Linked DNA regions of Homo sapiens: region 2 is linked to region 1. The links are contacts of gene promoters, found by promoter capture Hi-C in human tissues and cell types (Jung and others, 2019). All regions are on one chromosome and are shown on one strand. The core of a region is centred on a gene start or on the middle of the fragment in contact, and the rest is flanking DNA. Distances in the headings are between cores, read along the strand shown. Region 1 holds the start of PTGER3 (prostaglandin E receptor 3). Region 2 overlaps LOC105378793 (a long non-coding RNA gene).

Evidence for each region. The method cuts DNA at HindIII sites, captures the fragments that hold promoters and counts their contacts. A contact is called where the count stands out against the background at its distance.
Region 2: a contact is called between a fragment that was not itself captured here and the fragment with the promoter of PTGER3 in region 1, in 1 of the 25 tissues and cell types used here (hippocampus).

Annotation. Positions count from the first base shown.
Region 1 is chr1:71,045,113-71,052,247 of GRCh38, reverse strand. PTGER3 (prostaglandin E receptor 3) reads left to right here and starts at 4,432. Exons shown (of 4, transcript NM_198719.2): 1 at 4,432-5,567. The coding sequence starts at 4,671. ZRANB2-AS1 (ZRANB2 antisense RNA 1) reads right to left here and starts at 5,742. Exons shown (of 3, transcript NR_038420.1): 1 at 4,659-5,742; 2 at 3,260-3,434. RefSeq lists an enhancer at 4,435-5,018. The HindIII fragment of the contact is 12,323 bases long and covers 1,682-7,135 here.
Region 2 is chr1:70,453,319-70,460,453 of GRCh38, reverse strand. It overlaps LOC105378793 (a long non-coding RNA gene), which reads right to left. Exons shown (of 3, transcript XR_947499.2): 2 at 2,155-2,323. Among named protein-coding and RNA genes, the nearest start is that of CTH, 46 kb to the right of the region's middle. RefSeq lists an enhancer at 1-645 and a silencer at 1,361-1,561. The HindIII fragment of the contact is 9,520 bases long and covers 1-7,135 here.

The DNA.
Region 1 (7,135 bases), core at 3,183-5,682:
TTTTATTAAACTATTGCATTGGAAGGCATTCAAAAGCATACAGAAATCATAGAAGAGAAAAAAAGACCTGCAAATGAAAGGAGTAAAAATTATGACTTACTGGTTTTTGGGATCGAGGATCCTGCCCATTCTTCATGACTATGGCTATGGGAAATACTGGTAGAAAAAAAAAAATCATAGCCTTACTGGCAAAAAGTTCCAGAGACTGGAGTTAAGGCTTGAAAAGCCACTGCAAATTTAAGTAGGAAATCTTGGTAATGAGAACCAGAGAAGAAATGAGATAGAACTACCCAAATTCATGTCTCACAGCAAACTCTGCATGAGTGAAGGAGACCACATGAAGCCTGAGGAAAAAGCAAGCAAAGACCAGATAGAAATCTAGTCCCAGCACTTTGGGAGGTCAAAGTGGGAGGATCATGATGTTAGGAAATCGAGACCATCCTGGCTAACATGGTGAAACCCTGTCTCTACTAAAAATACAAAAAATTAGCCAGGCGTGGTGGTGGGCGCCTGTAGTCCCAGCTACTTGGGAGGCTGAGGCAGGAGAATGGCGAGAATCTGGGAAGCGGCGCTTGCAGTGAGCCAAGATTGCACCACTGCATCCAACCTGGATGACAGAGTGAGACTCCGTCTAAAAAAAAAAAAAAAAAAAAAAAAAAACAAAACACACACAAAAACCATTATTCAAGAATACATCTACTTTGATTACTTTGATGCTTTACTTAAGGGGATGTATTCCTCCCTGTGCTGTGTGTACTTTGGGTGGGAGAAAGCTGAAGCTTCAGAAACTTTAAATGTCAGGGAATAGCCCTAAGCTGGCAGAGTAGCTGCAAATAAGAGGAGAATCCCTAGAATCAAGGAACCCACACAGAAGGTGATCTCCATTGCTAACTGACCAGCAAATTACACAGGCATAGGGAAATCAATCTCTAGGAAGCCAAGCTAAAAGAGCATGGAAAACCATGAGAATGAAGCAGAGATACCAAGAGCAGCATGCCCCATGGGAGGCAATATTGGCAGTTTGAATCCGGACAAGTTAACTGTCAAACAGAGCAAACAAACATAAAATAGATAATACTCAGGGAAAAAAACCCGGTAGACTCCAGAGTCATTACAATATATTACAATGTCCAGTTTTCAATTAAAAAAAACAGGCATGTAAAGAATAGGAAGAAAAGACAGCAGAAAAGGCATTCATAGAAAGGGACTCTTTGATCTAGCAAAGACTTCTAGGCATTGCTTTTATTTTGATACAGTAATTACATTGATTGATGTTTAAATGTTAAGTCTACATTGCACTGTACTTCCATGACAATCATTCTGAGAAGACAAAAGCCATGGGATCAGTGTTTCTCCTGTTATTTGGCACTTAGAATCAGTAATTTTGCACTAAAATATAAACCCCATGAATATAGGCACTGTTATGTATTGCTTTTGTATCCCTAATGACTGAAACAGTGTCTGACATAGATTGGGTGCTCAATGAATGGTTATTGAATGAATGAATGACTAAAATATAAACTAAAATTACTGGTTGGCTCCATGAAGAAAGACTTTCAGATATTTTCCATCCATAGTGAGGCAATCAAAGGCTGATCATGTGACTCATTATTAATCTTATTTTGTATCCATATTTAAGATTTTTAAATAGATGTTTAATAGAAGTAAATAGCAAAATAAATTCATCATCACTAGCTAAATATTGACATACATTATACATTTTAAGCTGTAGGGTACAATTAAGTAATCTGTGAATTTAAAACATGTCCAGGTTAGAATTTCATTGAAAACATAATAGGTGAATATATACTTTAAATTAAAAAAAAATGAATATCTGGTCTTTCAGTTTAATCCTCTACTGGTTTATTGACTGTTAAACAAAGTTGCCAATTTGTAACCTCAAAGGAAAACAAAGTGACCACAATTATGTACTGATAAGTAGATCTCTAGGAAAGAAATCAGAGATTCCCTAAGCAAAGCATCCATTGGCCCTATGGAAATTCTCTTTAAAACAGCATAAAGCATGTTATTAGCCTTTTGGTCACTAGAGGGTGGTGTTGTTTCAGACCAACACAATTCACACTATATCCGTAGTAACTGACCAGAAAGTACCAACCAGAATCCAACTGCCAGCTTCACACTGTTACTCCACAAAACCTCACAGTCACTTGTTTACAAGGTGAATAGCTAAAGGCAGACAATATAGGATGAAGCAAAGTGCTGAAAGAAGAGAAATACCCAAATTATCTGAAATGCAACACATTTTGTTCATTGGCATAGAGGTTAGTGAGAGGCTAACAATTCTTTACTAATACATGCCCCGACGCTTACCATGCTTATCAAGTCCAATTGGCTACAGCAAGCACTTCAGTGGGAGAAGTAAAAGTTTCAAAGAAGTCAAATATTTGTGAATAAAAATGAGAATAGTTTTTGATGTAACTGGAAAAAGATAAGCCTTGCTTCCTTTGCTGTGTGAATGGTGATATGGTCTTAAATTTTAAATATTGAATTACACTAGAATTTTACTAACTATAGATGGTATAAACTTGATAGCCACTTTCATCCAAATGCTTTGGATAAAGCTTTGTCTAAGAATAACCTCAAATATTATTTTATTTTCAAATGATATTAGGCTAGAAAAATACTATCCCAAATACAGGTTTGAGATTAATTCAAAATAATAAGACAAAAGTTTACGGAAGATTTTAGAATCAAACCATTTCACCCTTCCTAGCTGTTGTTCCCATTGTAAACGTGACATTTTAGTCAGTAAAACGCAAAAGTGCAAAACATTTTTAAATGACAGCAAAACACAAAATGAAATTCATGTTGTGATTAATGCATCTTATTAAAATGGAGTTTAAGTTGCATTCTTGCTTTTCCTTCTTTAAAAAACATATAATGTTATAGTGATATTTTTTCAAACTCTCATACAGAATCAAGACAACAGCACATAAAGTATGCAGAGGGACATATCCCATTCTTACCTCTTAACAGTAATTTAAAAGTTAAGAACACCCATACAGAACATCAGCTAAGCTAGGAAAGGCAAAACTGATTGGGCTTGTTCTGAAAGTTGATCTGTGTCAATCAAAATAATGGTCTTTAGAGTGCTATATGATTAAGTCTAATTTCTTAAATATGAGGAAAAATGAACTTTGCAATTATTTTTAAAAATCTTTTCATCTCTTAGACAGTGTAAAAAGGCAAAAAGCAAAAAACACAAGACTTTCCCAAGATTAGGGGAAGATGATCTCACCGTTAATATTCATCTGCTGAGAGCAGTTATGGGACCCATGTCAGGAATACATGCTTCAAATAAGATGGGACTTGAGAATTGCTGAGAGACTTCAGGAACATTCTTTAACTTCATGGGGCCTCAGTTACCCCACCTTTAAGGGAAATAATAATAGCAATAGTACCTTGGAGGATTTCTGTGATAAAATGAGAAAATGCTTGTGAGAAGTACATAAAATATTGGCTTACTGAAAGATGTTACGAGGCAAGCAAGTATGCCTATTTTCATTCAATGTTTATTATTTCAAAGGCAAAGTTTCCATATAGATTAAGGCCTTCATAACATCTGAATACCTTTTCTAGTTCTTATTGTATGAAGATAAGAAGGATGGTTGGAGGCTTTGTAAGGAATACCTTTCTCTTCTGCTCCCCTCTCACTCCCATAGGCTGGGAGCAGTTGATTTCACTACCTCAGATATGCAAATTGATGCCACCTTCCTGTAGCCACTTTTGCCATAGCTGACCTTTTTGTTGGGTGGTGGGGAGGGGAGCGGGCAGGATTAGGCGAGGGGTAGTAGTTGGGATTTCTTGGTCTTGGAATTCAACCATCCGATGTATTTGTTTCCCTGTGTCTATTCCCTTAAGTCTACAGGCACTGTCTAGTAATTTTATAGTTTTCAGCGGCACCCCAGGGGACAGGACACCTTGGCCTTTTTATAATCACTCTAGAGTCACAAAGCAGAAAGGAAAAAAGTTAACGATCAGCTATGCAAAGGCTTGTGTGGATTGCTTAAGGACAGGCGATTTTCACTTTACCAGAGTTACTAAAGGACTTCAGGAGAAGGATCCCGTCCCTGTAGGAGCGTTTGTGGTTGAAGAAGCAGGAGGACGAGCGCTCAGGTGCGCCTCGGCAGTTTGCCTGGGGTCCGCAAGTCCAGTGCTACTTATTAGCTGCTTGCCGTCCACCGACACTTTAGCGGAGAACTGGAGGAGACCCCAGTGGGCTCCCGGTCCGGCCAGGAGCAGGGCGTTTCAGAGGAGACCGTCTGGGGCTTCCCAACCCAGGCGATCAGGATAGGCAACAGCCAAGAGAGGCGCTCAGTTGCTTTGCACCCTCCTCCCACCTCGGTTCTGTCCACACCCACGGGCGCCCCGCCCCCTCGGCCTTATAAAGGGGACTCGGCACCTCCGCGCGCCTCGCCACCAGAGGTTTCCCAGAGAGGAAGGCGTGGCTCCCTCCCGGGCCAGTGAGCCCTGGCGCCGCCGCGGCCGCGGTCCCAGCAGCGGAGTAGGGCGGCGGCTGCGCCCCGCACCATGGGGGGCAGCCCAGCCCCAGCCGCGGTAAACGCCGACCTCCGCCGCCGCCCGCGCCGCGTCTGCCCCCTCCCGCTGCGGCTCTCTGGACGCCATCCCCTCCTCACCTCGAAGCCAACATGAAGGAGACCCGGGGCTACGGAGGGGATGCCCCCTTCTGCACCCGCCTCAACCACTCCTACACAGGCATGTGGGCGCCCGAGCGTTCCGCCGAGGCGCGGGGCAACCTCACGCGCCCTCCAGGGTCTGGCGAGGATTGCGGATCGGTGTCCGTGGCCTTCCCGATCACCATGCTGCTCACTGGTTTCGTGGGCAACGCACTGGCCATGCTGCTCGTGTCGCGCAGCTACCGGCGCCGGGAGAGCAAGCGCAAGAAGTCCTTCCTGCTGTGCATCGGCTGGCTGGCGCTCACCGACCTGGTCGGGCAGCTTCTCACCACCCCGGTCGTCATCGTCGTGTACCTGTCCAAGCAGCGTTGGGAGCACATCGACCCGTCGGGGCGGCTCTGCACCTTTTTCGGGCTGACCATGACTGTTTTCGGGCTCTCCTCGTTGTTCATCGCCAGCGCCATGGCCGTCGAGCGGGCGCTGGCCATCAGGGCGCCGCACTGGTATGCGAGCCACATGAAGACGCGTGCCACCCGCGCTGTGCTGCTCGGCGTGTGGCTGGCCGTGCTCGCCTTCGCCCTGCTGCCGGTGCTGGGCGTGGGCCAGTACACCGTCCAGTGGCCCGGGACGTGGTGCTTCATCAGCACCGGGCGAGGGGGCAACGGGACTAGCTCTTCGCATAACTGGGGCAACCTTTTCTTCGCCTCTGCCTTTGCCTTCCTGGGGCTCTTGGCGCTGACAGTCACCTTTTCCTGCAACCTGGCCACCATTAAGGCCCTGGTGTCCCGCTGCCGGGCCAAGGCCACGGCATCTCAGTCCAGTGCCCAGTGGGGCCGCATCACGACCGAGACGGCCATTCAGCTTATGGGGATCATGTGCGTGCTGTCGGTCTGCTGGTCTCCGCTCCTGGTAGGTAGTTCCAGGGTTGGGGGAAGTCAGGATGCGTGTGCGAGTAAGCGGGAACCTAAGACTTTGCTAAGTGGCAGCACCCGCAGGGGTGTGTTTGCAACCGCAGAGCGCTGAAGTGTCCTTTCCTCCTGCCCGCGCGGTCTTGGTTACAGCTTCAGAGCTGAGCTCCTCACTTACTAGCTGAGCGCCTTCCAAGAGCCAGGATTCGCATTAGGCACTGTTTATGAGCACATAGAGATCACAGGGCTGCTCACATTCTAGTCGGGTAGGAGACAGGATGTGTCATTGAAATGACATATATGCAGAGCTAGAAGTTTGTCCTGAGTGCATTAAAAGCAGAATTGCTATGATAACTGTAGCCTGATATTGTGGGGTTTTTTTTTTTTTTTTTTTTTGAGACGGAGTCTCGCTCTGTCACCCAGGCTGGAGTACAGTGGCGCAGCCTCGGCTCACTGCAAGCTCCGCCTCCCGGGTTCACGCCATTCTCCTGCCTCAGCCTCTCCGAGTAGCTGGGACTACAGGCGCCCGCCACCACGCCCGGCTAATTTTTTTTTTTTATTTTTAGTAGAGACGGGGTTTCACCGTGGTCTCGATCTCCTGACCTCGTGATCCACCCGCCTCGGCCTCCCAAAGTGCTGGGATTACAAGCGTGAGCCACCGCGCCCGGCCGGGTTTTTTTTTTTTAATTTCAAATTCCTCTTTCACGTTAATAAGATTTTCAGTCTGCAACCCCATACAGTCACAGCCCTCCTGCAGCTTCTGAAAGACTGCGCGACCTATGGGTGCCTTCAAGGTTCATTCTTGATGAGGCAGGAGAATGAAAGATACGAGTTGCCTCCTCAGCCTTTCGCCATGGTGCTTGACCCTCTAGGAAGTGCCCGAACGACAGTCAGTGGGATCCGGAAGCTCAGCAGCTTCTTCAGGCCAGCATTTACTTACCCTTGTAGCACTCAAGCAGGGTTCGCTAATCCTGAGATAGGAGGTAGAGGTTTCTCCATGTCCTAGCTCCTCACACCAGAGCAATGCAGAGGAGCAAGGGATGTTTGCAGAGGCTCTTTGCCTAACACCTGCCCTTACGTGATATTTTTGAGGTTTTTTTGTCTGTGTTACTTTTAGCTAGAAATGTCCGTGTGTAAGTGCTGTTTACTAATTCCTGAAGAATGGATGCTTACTTAGGCCCTGGGGTGTCTGGGTTAATAGATGTTGCAGAAAGAGCGATATGGTCACTGTTACAAAGGTATAACCAACTATATGTATTATACAGTTGTGGAAAACCTTTGAAACACGTGAACGCAGTTTTTTTTCTTTCCTAATTATGGTAAAATATATTACATACAATTCAGTATTTTAACCATTATTATGTGTACAGTTCAGTGGCATTAGGCATTAAGTACGTTGAGTTTTTTGTGCGCCATGTATACTTTTAAATCCCTTGCATTTGAAAATAGAAATGTAATTTCTTTAACCTGGTTTGGTAGATTGGAGCACAAACCTTGGCTCCAAATCAGTGACATGAGGGGACAAGGAGTGTTATGCTGAGACCTAACTGCCCACAAGTCGCTGTATGG
Region 2 (7,135 bases), core at 1,999-4,498, 590 kb after region 1:
CAAGTGTGGAGGGGCAGGCCACCCCTTCAGCCCTCTTCTCACAGCTCCAAGAGGCAGTGCCCCAGTGAGAACTCTGTGGGGCCACCAACCTCACATTTTCCCTCTGCACTTCCCTAGTAGAGGTTCTCCATGAGGGCTCTACCCCTGCAGCAGTCTTCTGCCTAAACATCCAGGCTTTCCCATACATTTCAGATACATCCTCTGAAATCTAGGCAGAGGCTCCCAAGCCTCAACTCTTGTACTCTGTGCATCAGCCAGCTTAATACCATGAGGAAACCAGCCAGGCTAATCACTTGCATTCTCTGAAGCAGCAGACAAGCTATATCTGGGCCTCTTGGAGCCATGGCTGAAGCTGGAGAGGCCAGGATGCAGGGAGCTATGTCCCAAGGCTGCACAGAGGAGCAGGGCCCTGAGCCTGGCTCATGAAGCCATTCTCCTCTCCTAGGCCTCCAGGCCTGTGATAAGTCATGAGTCATCTAATGTGGTTTTAGGAAGTACAATCTTGGTCAGGCATGGTGGCTCACTCCTCTAATCCCAACACTTTGGGAGACCAAGGCAAAAGGATCACTTGAGCTCAGGAGTTCAAGACGAGCCTGGGCAACATAGCAAATCCTCGTACCTACTAAAAAAAAAATAATTAAAAAAAATAGCCAAGCATGATGGCACACACCAGTAGTCCCGGCTACTCAGGAGTCTGAGGTGGGAGGATCCCTTGAACCTGGGAGATCAAGGCTGCAGTGAGCTATGATTACACCACTGTACATCAACCTGGTTACAGACTGACAGCCTGTCTCGACAAACAGTAAAAATCTCAGGAAAAAAAACAAAAAGGCTCTAAAAAGGAAAGAAGTTATTCAAGCAGCCATAAGAAGATTCCTGAGATTAGAAAGGTAAAAGTTAATTATAATGGGCAGGATATCACCAAAGAAATAAATTATATTTCACAAATGTTTATTGATAAACTGAACTTACATTTCAATTTGCACCTGGTGTCTTAGTATAACTACTAACTGCATACCTTTTTGTTCCCAGAAGTGTCTCACTTTGGATAATGAATTATGTGGGGACACCCTACCATGTGCCAGGTGTACTAAGCAGTAACAGAAAATGAATATAAAAATTATTTACATTAATGATTTAATATTGGGGTATTGAGTCAAAAAAAGGCATGTGTCTTGCCATCAGAAAAGTGCTTCATTTCATTACAGAGGCAAGAAGAATATGTCTGAAAGAATCTGAAAGCAATAAAACGCTTTTTCTAGTTTAAAGTCAGTGTTAGGTAGAGCAAATAAACTGCAGGAAAAAAAAAAAAAAAACAGGAAAGGGGAGAGGGCAGAATGAACTAGAGGAATTAGGAAAAGCAGATAGACACATCTGCAAATTGATACCCAGAACCTAAGCTTGAATCCCTTTGTCATTGAGTGGAAAATGGGTGCATACAAACATGACTGACTACAAGCTAGTGATCTTTAGTCTGCCGCTCTGGCAGCAAGGTAACCAAGACTACATCCCTCAAAGGAGTCTTAATTTTTTAACCAGTTTCTTCAGAAGATATTTCTTAGAAGATCAGATATTGCCTTCATATGAAATATTCCCCAAGACTTTTTTCCCATCTCTTTCAGACCATCAATGTAACATATTTGGAATTTTATTTATTTATTTCTCTAAGAACATTTTAACTTCCAGAGAAGGGCAAGTTTGGGTGTCTGCAAAACTAAACTGTAGGACCACTTTGCTCTCAACACCCTTTCCATGTTGAGAGGAGCTTCTGGCCCTTGCTCTCTGCTTTATTTTTCAGCATTTTTCAACAATCGCCTGCTGCACAACAGCATACTAAGTTCAGTTTGCCCCAAGTGCAATAAGGGTTTTAAACTGTGCTAGTTTTCTAAAAAGTAATTCATTTTTAACAGGTCTTATTTCTGAGTAAACCCACAGAAGAGCAGTTATGGGCAAATAAAAGCAGATTTTATTTAACATTCTGTGAAATCTGGCAGCCTGGGAAGAAGATGCATGCTGGGCCTGGCACAGAACTCCACAGTCAGTTTCCATAGGGAAAGAAGATGAATAACCCAATGCAGTCAACCCCTCTGTGAGCACAGAAGTAATGAACAAAAGATTCATTTCATGTGGGTGCTTCACACACTTTCTACTGACCTCATGCAGCAACTTCAAAGGACTTCTCTGTTCAGAGTAATTATCTGCAATTTGCAGAGTAGCACACAGTCTTCTCACAGATTGTACACTTCCCTTCAGACCCCAAGCTGGCTGGATGTGAACATGACAACACTTCATTTCTAGACCAGAAACAGCTTCCTGATCCAGCCTACAAAAAAGGAAGGAAAATATTTTAAATTAAAGTCTTTCCAAAGAGCTATGTCCTTGGTGTTGGCATGCTACTCACCGTGATCCAAGAGCCCAGGTAAGTACAACTTGAAATTAAAAGAAAGCCCTAATGATCAGATCACTAAAATACGATCCTTTTATAAGAGCAGCTCATATATTAACAAATCAATCCTAATGTTTTATAATATAGAATAAACTGAAAACTGGTGGTATGAATTGAGTTATTTTTGTCATACCCAAGTGAATCGGAATGGAGGAACCAGGGGAAAAAGCACTCAGGGTACATAGCACCTGCTTCAAGAATTCTCCTGCAAGCTCAGCTGCTGAAATGGCCTGTGCAATGTAAGACCATTTTTACCTAGCAGCTACCTAAATGACCTGCCATGACTCTAAGGTTAGTTTTTCCTACTGCCATCATTCACCAGAGCTTGCCAGCTCCCAGAAACTTCACTACTGCCAGTAAGCTCCTTACAAAACAATATGTAACATGTATCTTTCTAATAAAACACTCAACCTTCTCTTTGTTCTTCAGATATACTAAAAACCACACCAGGCTGTTTGTATACCACAAATTGCAACTCTATTTTCTCAAATTAAACCTTTTGTGTATAGATTTGTCTCTACATTTTTATTTGACTTTGACAAAACTAACTGATGAAATAGTAACTTTCTATCACATAAGTTTTTTTAAAACAGCAATATTTTTAACAAACCACTTGATTCTTCATGTAATCAATTTCTGTCTATAAAACAAAATATGATTCACATTTTTTTCAAGGCAATAAGATGTTTCTTCTGTCTTTTTTTTTTTTTATGAGATGATGTCTCACTGTGTTACTCAGGCTTGTCTCGAACCCCAGGGCTCAAGTGGTTGTCCCACCTCATCCTCCCAAAGTGCTGGGATTACAGATATGAGCCACCATGACAAGCTGGAAAATGTCTTAAAAAAAAAAGATAAAATATATAAGGACTTCTAGGATCCTCTCTAGTCATAATATGCTATCTGTTATATAGGAATTTTGATCATTTAGTATATCTTGTTGATATGGTTTGGTTGTGTCCCCACCCAAATCTCATCTTGCATTGTAGCTCCCATAATTCCTGTAGGTCATGGGAAGGGCCTGGTGGGAGACAAATGAATCACGGCGGCAGGTCTTTCCAAAGCTGTTCTCATGATAGTGAATAAGTCTCATGAGATCTGATGGTTTTATAAATGGGAGTTCCCCTACACAAGCTCTCTTGCCTGCCACCATGTAAGATGTGACTTTACTTCTCCTTTGCCATTTGCCATGATTTGTGAAGCCTCCCCAGCCATATGGAACTGTGAGTCCATTAAACCTCTTTCCTTTATAAATTACCCAGTCTTGGGAATGTCTTTATTAGCAGTATAAGAACAGACTAATACACCTGTTAAATGGTATGAAAAGTGTATGGTGGCTCTTAACCACTGTGAATTGACTTTCCTAGTATTTTTAGTTTTTACTTTTAATTATCCAATGTATCTTTATATCTAAATTCTAAGGATAATTGTTAAATTTCTACCACCATCTATTTTAGGTAGAACTGACTTGAAACTAAGCAAAACAAAAAATTATACACAGAACTTTTCCTCAATAGATTGTTTTAATTAGTACTAATTTTTGTTTGTTTGTTCGAGATGCAGTCTCGCTGTGTCACCCAGGCTGGAGTGCGGTGGCGTGATCTCAGCTCACTGCTAGCATGATCTTGGCTCACTGCAACCTCCACCTCCCAGGTTCAAGTGATTCTTCTGCTTCAGCCTCCCAAGTAGCTGGGACTACAGGCATGCACCACCACACCTGGCTAATTTTTTAATTAATACTGATTTTTAATCAGAGTATTATGTTTACAAAATTTTTTTAGGTTTATGCAGAGCTAAAAGGCTTACCACAATAACAAAATAATAGCTCCAAGTTCTACTTGCCTGCCAACCTTGTTGTCCTACTTGCAGTTTTAACATTTCTTTAATATTACTTTTAAAACTCTAAATGGTATGTGTGTATCACTATCTCTCAATTCATCACATTTTAGTTATTTACTAACTTTCCAATATGGTAAATTATTTCACTCACCATCTTCCCCTTCTTCTATTCCTCCCAATATAATTCTTTCTCTCCTTCTCTTTCTGTCTCATTTAAAGCCAAACACAGAAGTTTCATTCTTATAATTATGTAAATATTCATCACTGTTGAGTCAAGTGGAGTGTCATGACTACATTTACTTTCTTGTACAAATTTTTTTCATTTACTTTATTTCCCACACACTCCAACACTTTCTATAAAATGCCTTGCATGGCCAGGTGCAGTGGCTCACACCTGTAATCCCAGCATTTTGGGAGACTGAGGCGGGAGGATTATGTGAGCCCAGGAGTTTGACACCAGCCTGGGCAATGAAGTGAGACCCTGTCTCATTTACATATGTATATAGAAAGAACTACAGTCTTGAGGAAACCAACTCAAGACCAATATGTTCTGTGATGTAGATTTCCTAGAGACGTAGTTGTTGTTAACTACAGAAAGAACCCCATGAAGATAAATAGGGGTAGAGACATAAAAATTGGAAGATAACCAGAATAAAGCCATCTGGTAGTGATATTGCCAAACGTCATCTAGACAATAATTGGACATCTGTTTAATGACCTCTGAGAGCTCCAGGGAATGTTTCTTTTCTGCTACTAAAGAAGGATGTCACTAATCACATTGCAAGTAGCCCTGAGTATGTCCAGAGGAAGGATTTTCTAGTTAAGCAGAAAGTTTTTTGAGCTTTCACATTAAATTAGGCTTATATTAGAGGGGCTACAAGAATTAAAATATTTGCAAATGTATAGAATACCTAATCCAATCCTGCAAAACTGTTTTATGCATACGAGAGAGAGAGAGAAAATAACAGAGACAGAGACAGAGAAAAAAAATAATAGAGATAGAGACAGAGAAAGAAACAGAGAGACAGAGAAAATAATAAAATCTATTTTAAACCTCCTTCTCCAGAAATGGAGTTATCATAGTCCTCCATTCAAAAAGAATTTTTGTTAAGTTTCTAAGTGACATCTAACACATGAGAGAATAAGACAAGGCCCTTGTGCACATGCAGCCTACAGACTAGTATAAAGACTAGACCCGGCCTGATCAGGCCAGGTGTGGTGGTTCATACCTGTAATCCCAGCACTTTTGGGAGGCTAAGGTGGGCAGATCACTTGAGCTCAGGAGTTCAAGACCAGCCTGGCCAACATGGCAAAACCCCATCTCTACAAAAAATACAAAAATTAGCTGGGTGTGGTGGCATGCACCTGTGGTCCCAGCTATTCTGGAGGCTGAGAGAGAAGGATCACTTGAGCCCAGGAGGCGGAGGTTGCAGTGAGCTGAGATTGCACCACTGCACTCCAGCCTGGGTAATAGAGCAAGGCTTTGTATCAAAAAAAAATTATATATATATATATATACACACACACATATCTTTTATTACCTTGTCTCAAAATCAAATGCATCCTTTATAAGCCATAAGACTTTTAAAAAATACATATATATACATACATCTATATAGATACATATATATGTATCTGACCTTCTTCTCTCTTCTCACCTGCCCCAAGGCAGAACTCTTAACCGCACCCCCATCTTAAGACTGTCTGCAGAGAGAGTCCCACCCTATACACTGAGGGAAGGAATGCTTGTCTTGAAGTTTCCATAAAAACCCATGGGGACTGGGTTCAGAAAGTTTCCAGATAGCTGAACACGTGGAGGTTCCTGAAGGCTGGTGTGCCCCCAGAAGGCATCTATATATGTATAGATACATATATGTATCTATCTATATAGATGTATATATATATGTATCTATCTCTATAGATGTATGTATATATGTATCTATCTATATCTATCTATGTATCTATATATGTGTATATGTATCTATATATAGATATATATCTATATATGTATCTATCTATATATATGTGTGTGTGTATCTTTTTTTAAAGTCTTCTTTATGGCTTATACAGGATGGATTTGATTTTGAGAGCTGGTAATAAAAGCAAGGAAGGAAAATTCTGATTCAAAGAAAAGAAAAGCAGTGCTTCTCACCAGTCAAGAGATTTTTCAATTTTGAGGCTCTTAATGTATTTTTTAAAAGTAAAGAAACGCAAAAATACTAGTTTACAGAATAGCATTGTTTATGTCTCTATTCCATTTGAAAATAATGAAGTCTAAATTTAAAACGCTTTTTGAATGAAACTCCCAGGACAAATGGTCTTTTTGACTTCCCATCATCACTCACCCCAGATAGATCCTGAGATACAAAAGCAAAGAGAGACAATGTCATAAGGCACATTCAGAGGAAATAAATGTGATCTTGATTACAGAAATAGACAAGACAGGTATGTGGGGTTTTTTTTTCTACAGGGTTAAAAAAACATTTAACAAAGTTCTTTTAATATAAAGGACACACAAAAAATGTGATTTGTTAACTGCTTAAAAGCATTTATCTATGCCCCTCATGTATCACATATCACTCACCTTGCCAGTTGTAATAATAATTTATCTTCTTAGCAAACTGTGGTATTATTATATATGTTGGTTTTTGTCCATGGTACCTAGCTTACAACTCCCATAGCCCTTTTTACAGTCTTTTGTTATAACGTTGGGTATGTTAGGCCTCAGAAAACAAGAATTTCTCTGACCTTCTTCCCTCTTTTCACCTGCCCCAAGGCAGAACTCTTATCTGCACCCCCATCTTAAGACTGTCTGCAGAGAGGGTCCCACCCTATACACTGAGGGAAAGGAAT